2 separate regions of the Homo sapiens genome follow, and region 1 is linked to region 2. The links are contacts of gene promoters, found by promoter capture Hi-C in blood cells and fetal thymus (Javierre and others, 2016). All regions are on one chromosome and are shown on one strand. The core of a region is centred on a gene start or on the middle of the fragment in contact, and the rest is flanking DNA. Distances in the headings are between cores, read along the strand shown. Region 1 overlaps DOCK5 (dedicator of cytokinesis 5). Region 2 holds the start of GNRH1 (gonadotropin releasing hormone 1).

What was found. The method cuts DNA at HindIII sites, captures the fragments that hold promoters and counts their contacts. A CHiCAGO score of 5 or more calls a contact.
Region 1: a fragment that was not itself captured here is called in contact with the fragment with the promoter of GNRH1 in region 2 in 2 of 17 cell types (neutrophils and M2 macrophages); the score reaches 8.3 in neutrophils.

What each region holds. Positions count from the first base shown.
Region 1 is chr8:25,320,153-25,325,120 of GRCh38, reverse strand. It overlaps DOCK5 (dedicator of cytokinesis 5), which reads right to left. Exons shown (of 52, transcript NM_024940.8): 16 at 4,069-4,141; 17 at 1,170-1,273. Among named protein-coding and RNA genes, the nearest start is that of MIR6876, 23 kb to the left of the region's middle. The HindIII fragment of the contact is 3,892 bases long and covers 1-3,435 here.
Region 2 is chr8:25,421,951-25,426,783 of GRCh38, reverse strand. It overlaps GNRH1 (gonadotropin releasing hormone 1), which reads left to right and starts at 2,523. Exons shown (of 4, transcript NM_001083111.2): 1 at 2,523-2,583; 2 at 3,453-3,594. The coding sequence starts at 3,454. The HindIII fragment of the contact is 12,746 bases long and covers 1,398-4,833 here.

The DNA of each region.
Region 1 (4,968 bases), core at 240-2,739, 100 kb after region 2:
AGAGTAAATACACATATTTCAGAATAAGGTTAAATTTCATTTTCTTCAGTCTCTAAATGGGGACAATTCCAACAATGATAGACTGGATTAAGAAAATATGGCACATATACACCATGGAATACTATGCAGCCATAAAAAAGGATGAGTTCATGTCCTTTGTAGGGACATGGATGAAGCTGGAAACCATCATTCTCAGCAAACTATCACAAGGACAAAAAACCAAACACCGCATGTTCTCACTCATAGGTGGGAATTGAACAATGAGAACACATGGACACAGGAAGGGGAACATCACACACCAGGGCCTGTTGTGGCGGGGGCGGGGAGGGGGGAGGGATAGCATTAGGAGATATACCTAATGTTAAATGGCAAGTTAATGGGTGCAGCACACCAACATGGCACATGTATACATCTGTAACAAACCTGCACGTTGTGCACATGTACCCTAAAACTTGAAGTGTAATTAAAAAATGGGGACAATTATACTTTATTGGGTTGATGGAAGAAGAATTAGCTTGCCATCCCTTCCAAAATGATTCATAAACTAAGATGTTAAGAAAAATATTCCTCAGGTAGATGCATCTCAAAAGAGCAGCCAACTGTGGGGAAATCCCCAGATATTGTTGGCTAAATGAGATCTTCCAGCATCTACTTTATACTCTAAAATCTCAGTAGAAGTGGGAGCTCAGCATCAGTTGGAAGGCAAGAACAAAGACAAAACTTTCAGGGAAGGAAATAAGGCCCCCAGAGCACAGAAATAGTATGTGGCTCATGGTGATGGGAAAACCATATCCACCACACACTACTGAAGCCCAACAGTGCACCTGTCCATGTGCCATGCAGGATGATGAAAAGAGCAGATCATGAGAGGCCGACCCCTTACCATTCACTGCTAGGGAACACCATTCACAGGACCTCTCCCGTGAGAGGTCTAAGGAGGTGAGAGCCTCCTTAGAAGACTCAGTAATAATGCAACTCACTCTCTCCAGAAAGCAGGTGGGAAACCACAAAGCTGGAGGGCCCAGAGCCCTCTGGGTTTCTAGATGTTAATGGGCAAGTACAGAAAGCTCTAGAAAGGTTTCTGATGTTTGTACAAATAAATATGAAAGGAGTCTTAAATGCTCATTTGAAAGGGAGTATTTTTCTCAGCCATTTTCTGTTAGCACCACCTTATAAACCACCAGATCGTGCCTCCCATCCTGCAGAGTGGTGCCATCCGGGTTCATCAGCTTCACGAAGGCCACCCCAAATGCTCGCTCCGATTTATCTCTGGCTGAAAAGGCAGAAAGACATGTCTGAGCAGTGCAGAGAGACACCAGGAGGCGATGGCTATGACACGATTTCACATTTTGCTCGGGGGTGCAGCGTTCAACCATATTCTAATAAGCACAACTGAGCAAACTGCAATAAGCCACGTACCATGTGCCACTGAAACTGCCTGGCACCCCCAAGTATGCTCTCCTCTTCCTACATCCCCTAATAAATGAGACTAGCATCTGCCCAGTCATCCAAATCAGAAATGTGGGTGTTGACACCAACTCCACCCCACGTCAACTCCATGTCCTAAACAGCTCTGGAGCCTGTCTCTTCTCTCTCCATCTTGCTGTCCTTCCTGACTTCAGGCCACACTCACCTCTTCTCTTTATTTCTACAAGACCTTCCCAGCGCATCTCTCTGTCTCTAGGCTCTCCCACCAAACACATTCTCTATGTTGGAATGAGGTTTCCAAAGTCCAATCCAATCATGTCAACCACGCTGCTTCAAAACACTTGAATGAGAGATCTCAATTTATGTTGCTCTAAAACAGGCTCTGCAAGATATTTATTCTACTCTAGGGTTTATGGTGCTGCCCAAAGTTTCTTTACCCTTCCTCCCCAGAATACCAGCTCCAGTGCCAGGAAAGAAGATCTGCATGCCCTGTGGCAGCTGGGAGGAGGGTGCAGCTTCATGAGGAGGCAGAGCTCCTCTCTCTTGGTCTTCGGGGCCAGTCTCTGAACTCACCGGGTCCCCTGCTTCAGTGGCTCTGAGTAGGGTAACCTGTGGCCTGTTTTTATCATAGGCACGGCTCTGTGGTCTGCTGTGCCCCTTGGGTCCCCACAGTGGTGGAGTAGTCATCCATTGTATGATCATACCTCAATTTGTTTATCCATTCTCCTATTGATGGGGATTTAGGCTATTCTAGTGTTGGAGTACTATGGGTGAAGCTGTTATGAACATAGACCAACCCCTCCCAAAACCTCAAAACCAGAAACCACCCTTGAATTGCACCTCCTTAACATGGCTGAAAAACATCTTCAGCCTTCATGATCCGGCTCCAGCCCAGCTAGAATCAGATTGTCTGGGTGCTAACCCAGCCTGGTCATATGCTAGCCTTGTGACCACAGGCAAGTGCCTAACCTCTCCATGCCTTAGTTTCTTTGTGTATAAATGTAGATAAAAGTAGAATGTACCTTGTTATATTATTGTGGATACTAAACAGGACCATGTACAAATATAGCTTCACATAATACTTCATACAAACTTGACCTTTGTTAATTGTTAATTGACAATTGTTAGTTATTATGCAGAACCATATGAAATGGCTGATATTTGGCCATTTAGACCTAAAAAATGCCAATTTCACACGATTCAACCTGATACTATTATTGCTCCACTGGTCCTGCTTTAGCCATACTGAGTTCATTTGGTTCTCCAAACACACTTCTCCCATCACCCTTCACTGGGCTAATTTCTACTCACCTTCAAGTCTCAGCTAAGATGTAGGAGGTCATATGCATAAATCCCCCAGACTGGGTAAGGTGCTGTGCTACGCTTCCATTACAAGTCTTTGCCCCTTGTAATGTACATATCATACTATTCCGTACATAACCACCCACTTTTTCGTTCATCTTCCTAACCAGACCACAAAGACTCTGCGTGGGAGTGTCCAGCTGGCTGTCATAGACCAGGGCCTCGCCTGCAGCCTGTTGTGTAGATGGTGTTCAACACATGCATTTTTGGAAGGAGGGGTTACATTTTTATGCAGTGCGAAATGAGAATAAGACGATTCCAGAAATTTTGTGATCAATCTGAAAACAATCAATTTTCTTCTCTGCTTACACTTTAGTGTAGCCATTTCAAGAACTGTGACCTAAGACTTGAAAGAGTTTTTTCATGAGAAAAATGATAATTTGGGGAGACAAGTGAATAAAGAGTTTTCTTGCTACTGCAACATGGCAACACGCATTGTGAACGTCTAGGAGGGAGATACAATGTATATATAGCCTTTCCTATACCTATTTGATTGTGAAATACAACACTTTTTGTTATAGAGCATCTAGTAGCATCTTAGAGCAGGGGACCTCAAACCCCAAGCCATAAACCCATACCAGTCTGTGGCCTGTTAGGAACTGGGCTACACAGCAGGAGGTAAGCGGCGGAGGAGCAAGCAAAGCTTCATCTGTCTTCACAGCTGCTCCCCACTGCTCGCATTATCACCTGAGCTCCGCCTCCTGTTGGATCAGCAGCAGCGTTAGATTCTCACAGGAGCCGAACCCTATTGTGACCTGTGCATGCAAGGGATCTAGGTTGCACATTCCTTGTGGAAATCTAATGCCTGATGATCTGAACTGTCTCGTTGCAGGAAAACAAGCTCAGGGCTCCCACTGATTCTACATTATGGTGAGTTGTATAATTATTTCATTATATATTACAATGTAATAAGAATAAAGAAAACAATAAATGTAATGTGCTTGAATTACCCTGAAACCATCACCCCACCCCTGGTCCTTGGAAAAACTGGCTTTCACAAAACCAGTCTCTGGTGCCAAAGATTGAGGACTGCTGTCTTTGAGAATATTAGTGTTCACAAAACACATTTTGAGGAAATCCTAATATAGAGTGACAACACAGACCTTGCACGCCCAGCAAAATTCATTATGCTGATTTCCTTAGCACCAGTGAGTTACAAAATACAGCTGCCAAGTCTCTAGTTTCCAAATATCTTGTTCTCCAGCTTCACAAGATGGCTGTCAAGCCAGAGCAAATTTTTTTTAAGTGGAAATATGTCATAGACGTCTTAATACTTACTTTCCTGAGATGACCTGTGTCGGAAGGTAAATCTTATATGACAGCGTGTGACTTCTTCTATAGCAATGGATACCTGTGTCATAGTAAGAAATTAATAGTTTACAGACACACAGTACTTTGCAAGCATGGTTTATTTCATGGAATTAGGCTCAATTTTATACTTTCCACAGCACAAATTACTAGAGAGTGAGATTTGGTATAGGTTTCATTCAAAGGAGACTGAGCTATTTTCAAATCAAAAGAATCTCAGATCATCTTGCTGTTTATCATAGATTCTGAGCATAGGGATACTGTGAATTTCTAGCATTTTCTGAAGTAAGAAACAGTAATACTTCAGAGGGGAAATACTGGTATTTTGAGGTCCACACAGGATCTTTCAGACTGCAAGATGTGTATAAATATAGTAATAATTGGATCTATAAGACCTGATTATTCCATAAAGAGGGGGAAAGGTAATAATTAGGGCTCATAAAGCAGTTTTCTGCTGCTTACCTATCTACAGGGGAGAGAAGAAACAGAGCCTTAGGGCACTCAAACGAGCAGAGATTTGTGGTGTGCAGTCAAATCATGGCATGATTATACTTTGGAACCTTATGCAAGTATCTAAAATACATATCTGAAGAATTTATATGCATTGAGATAAGTAGTTTTAAAAAGCACAATATAAATTTGTATCAACAGCATCATTCAAAACATATGAACTATAGAAAACTGTTGAAAATGGTTAATTCTAAATTGAGATATATGAATGCAATTAAAAAATTTTTTTTTCTATGAAGAACTCGTGTGACTTCGACAACCAGAAAGAGCTGATGGAGCCCGGGATTCAGAAGAAGTGGACTCTAGTTTGGGCCCTGATACCAGTCAGCTCTAGGATCCTGGGAAGTCACTGAACTTTGA
Region 2 (4,833 bases), core at 1,274-3,773:
TTGATAACCTATTTGGTGCTATAGAAAGTAAGACAAAACAAAGTTGACTCTTGCCTTGAGATCTGTGTGACCTAAGACAATGCTAATGGAGACTTTAAGGACAACAGCATATTGGATGAATTCATAGACCATATTTGTGATGGTTAATACTGAATATCAATTTGATTGGATCAAAGCATGCAAAGTATTGATCCTGGGTGTGTCTATAAAGGTGTCGCCAAAGGAGATTAACATTTGAGTCAGTGGGCTGGGGAAGGCAGACCCACCCTTAATCTGGGTGGGCACCATCTAATCAGCTGCCAGCAAATATAAAGCAGGCAGAAAAACGTGAAAAGTCTAGATGGGCCTAACCTCCCAGCCTACATCCTTCTCCTGTGCTGGATGCTTCCTGCCCTCGAACATTGGACTCAAAGTTCTTCAGCTTTGGGACTCAGACTGGCTTTCCTTGCTCCTCAGCTTGCGGACGGCCTACTGTGGGACCTTGGGATCGTGTGAGTTAATACTTAATAAACTCTCCTATGTGCGTGTGTTTGTGTGTGTGTGTGTGTGTGTATGTATTCTGTCCCTCTAGAGAATGCTGAGTAATACAATATTGCTGTGTTCATCTTAATAATTTCAAAACATTTTTCAAAAATTTAATCCCAACTGTTAGAAATAACCTACAAGAAATCCAGTGAGGCCTACCTACCCAGAGATAAGTGATTCACCTGACAATATGCATCACAAGTCTTAACTCTCATTTCATTAGTCCTATCCAGAGACCACATTTTCTACTTAAGCAATACTTAGAGGCACATCTCTCAGCAAACACAAACCAATTGGACAATTTAAACTAGCACTATTCAACCATAATGAACTCTGGTTGAAAAACAGTCTGTCCCTACTTGCATATTGTAGTGAGATGAGATTCCACTCTTCATGTCAGAATGGCACTTACATGAGTCAAAGTGTCTAAATGAAATAATTTAAATGGAACAAAGTCAAATACTTACATTTTATTTTTAAATTCTCCTCTATTTGCAGTTATACTTTAAAGTGTACTCCCTTCTCTATCCTATCATGAGGACTGGACAGCCTCCACAGAGATGGCTGGACAAAGCAAGGGAATTTACTTAGGTAAGACACCATTTCTCTTTACTCTGAAATCCCTGCAAATGTAGTTATTCCAGAGGAGACTGTGCAATGACTGATGGGTTTAGCATCCTACATGAGGGGAAATTGCCATTCCCAGCTGTAAAATGAACAAATATCCAGTTATTTTTTTTAGCCATCTTACAGCTTAGCTAATATAACAGGATTTACAGCCAATTATACATGAAAGTTTAATTCTGTGTCAGATAAAGCATATCTTTGATGCAGAAATAGAGGCAGCATTAGGCCTTACCTGGTTAAAAGCTTTTTGCTTTCTATTCATTCATTCGTTCATTCATTCATTCAAACCTATACTTACTGAATGCTCACTAAATGCCGGGGGTTTATTAAGAGAGATTTAAATAAGATGGGATCTTTGACTATTACAGGTTTCAGCCTAGGGGTAAATTAGGGGAAGACAACCATGTATTCAAATAAATGTAATTAAGAGTAATGGTTGTGTGTGTATTTTACATGCTTGTCCTGTGTAAATAACACGTCCACGGTTGCACCTCTGGGGTGGAACATCTATAAAATTTAGATAATGATACCCACTTTGCATGGCTATTGTAATGAATGCTCTTATACATTTGCTATTTATTAAATAACTATAATTTCTCATCTTTCTGTTCCCACTGCCCTTAAGAGTGATTTGCATATTTAACTCAATAAGCATCTACTGAAATGAGTTGATCTGTTGATGTAAGTCTGCTCAATATGGTCTTGCTCTCAGAATATGTTTCTTGCCTTTTTGATGCTTTAGAAGGCTTTCAAGGTAAGTCAAGCAGGGAACCTGGTGGGTAGATGAGGGAATTTTCAAACACACAACTGTCTGATTTAGGATCCTACATGGACTTGGTATATAGTGTCACTTACTTGTAAATCAGATTTTTAAAATTGGAAGCAACTCTGTGATCATCTAGTCCATCTAGTCTACACCCTTCCTTTTACAAATGAAGAATCCAAGAGCCAGAAGCTCCCAGACATCCTGACTCAATGTCCTATATTTGTTGTATAGCCTCCTTTGTGGAAGTTATGTATGCATTTGACTTCACTTAATCTAAGACATCTATTTTCCTTGAACTCTTGATAGGTCTGCTGGTTTCCTCAAGGGAATCCAATCTAGCTGGATTTTAATCTCTTTGAATTGTGTCCTCAGCTATAAAAGTTTTAGCTGAGGTTTTAATGGCTGCACTTAAGTAAATCTAACAGATATACCAGGGGGTGTTCCAATTACATACACCATTAAAGGGCTTTATGTGAGGATTTTTAAAAATTACCATTAAAAAAAAAAAAGCATAGTCCATTTGCAGTATAATTTACCAGCAGGAAAGATTTCAATGTCCTGGAAAAATTCCCTATAAAAAGGAAGATAGGAAAACAGAAAAGTCACAGTACTCAACCTACTTCAAGGGAAGATTGGGATCTTTTTGGCTCTCTGCCTCTAAACAGGTAAAAGGCTTTGTATTATTTCTAGCACGAGTTTTTCTTCTTTAGATTGCATGCTATTGTATGTCTACAGGGCATTTGACAGCCCAAGGGCTAAATCCAGGTGTGACGGTATCTAATGATGTCCTGTCCTTCACTGTCCTTGCCATCACCAGCCACAGAGATCCAGGCTTTGGGGACTCCCACAGCTTATCGACCAGTGTTTGATTTAGTTTTTAGCCTCTTTCCCATCAAATGAAAATTAACTTGGAGACACATTTCATTAGAAAATTAGAGGCCCCCTTGGCTAGGAAGGCATCTGGTCTGGGACTAACTACTTTGAACAGTGTTGAGTCCTCTCTCCCACAGATGGTTCAGCCAGCAGTAATGCTAGGAAGACTGAAGGATAAATAGAAAAATGTCATTAGTACCATGGGGTAGCCATGTAATGTCAAGCAATTTTATATTAGCCAGAGATTCCTAGTAGGAGCTACTTTTCTTAACAGATGACTCAGTTCTCTTTATCTCAGGAATGAAAGAGTTGAAGACCAATCCACAACAGGGGAAATGTTAAGGCAAAATGATGAACTTGATAAGGGATGAATTATGGGGTTTGGATAACCAAACAATAAAAATAAAAGTATAGACTATTTTAGTACTAAAAAGGTCCTGAACATGTGAGCTTAAGTACTCATTTTGTCCCCAGTGGCTAAGAAACTAAAGGCAAGCCAGCAAGTGTCTCTGAGTTTCAGTGTCTGTATGTAAAAACTGACTCTGACTTCCATCTTCTGCAGGGTTAGTGATACAGATGCTAGCTTTTTCACTAAAGAGGTCTTTTAGTTTATACTCAACCTTGTCTGGATCTAATTTGATTGTGCATTCATGTGCCTTAGAATGAAGCCAATTCAAAAACTCCTAGCTGGCCTTATTCTACTGACTTGGTGCGTGGAAGGCTGCTCCAGCCAGCACTGGTCCTATGGACTGCGCCCTGGAGGAAAGAGAGATGCCGAAAATTTGATTGATTCTTTCCAAGAGGTAAGTTTCTCTCAGCTTCAAAATAAGACATAGTGATTTTATTCAATTTAACTATATTAAACATTCAGGATAGCCCCAATGTCAATATTCTATGATGTTGTACCCTAGATGCTCCAGGTGAGATAAGGCACTTACAAAGTAGAAGTCCCATTCCTACTTTCAGTTCACACAGGGACTAAACAAAGAGCTGGAAAAATTCCAAAAGAATATATTAATAGCAACAAGTGTGAGACAGCACGTCATACTCTGAGTGTATGGGATTGCTAAAGGAATTAGAAACAATGGGATAGGGTCAAGGTCTGTATCAGAAGATGATTCTTTGGGATTTGGAAAAAACGTTAGAACTTCGTTTTTTTTTTCCTCATTTCATCTTTTAAACATATCTATGCTATTAGATCAGTACATTTTTATAATTTATAAATGAGTATCCTTATCAAGGATGCATGCCCTATAATTTCTTTTCACTGATAGGGGCATTTAAGCAAAGTTGGAGACTGGTAGAATACAGGAATTAGCAAACTCAAGATGATAAGATAACGTAGTAGAAAACATGCTGATTTAAATTCATATAGATTAGATTATAGGACTGGCACCAACACTAACGTGAGGTACTTGCTTTCTTGTTTTTTGGGGTTATTTTCTAAGACAGGGTCTCGCTGTGTTATCTAGGCTGGAATTTAGTGGCACGATCACAGCTCACTGCAGCCTTGACTTCTTGGGCTCAAGTGATCCTCCCACCTCAGCCGTCTGCATAGCTGGGACCACAGGCATGCACTATCACACCCAACTAATTTTTAAAACTTTTTATAGAGATGGGGTTTCCCTATGTTGCCCAGGCTGGTCTCAAACTCCTGGGCTCAAGGGATCCTCCCACCTTGGCCTCCCAAAGTGCCGGGAGGATTTTTGTTTATAAAATATGACCACTCATCAGGGTCATGTAAGGAAAGAAGCCATCTATGTTAGCTGATTAACCTGAAAAATAACCTAGGACTGAGAATGGGAAAAATTTTAAATCATTTCATTATCATTGGAAGGAATTATCTCTTTTCTGAGAAATAATAAAGATAATTTAGTATTAAAGAAGACCCAGAATCTGAAGCCTCTTCTCTGCAGGTTATACATGAAGCAAATCTCATTGAACTATAACATATTTAGTAAAACCTAGAAAATAAAAACCAACCTTTTTTTACAACTATAAACTCTTGGGGGTTTTTTGCTTTTTGTTTTTTTGGGTATACT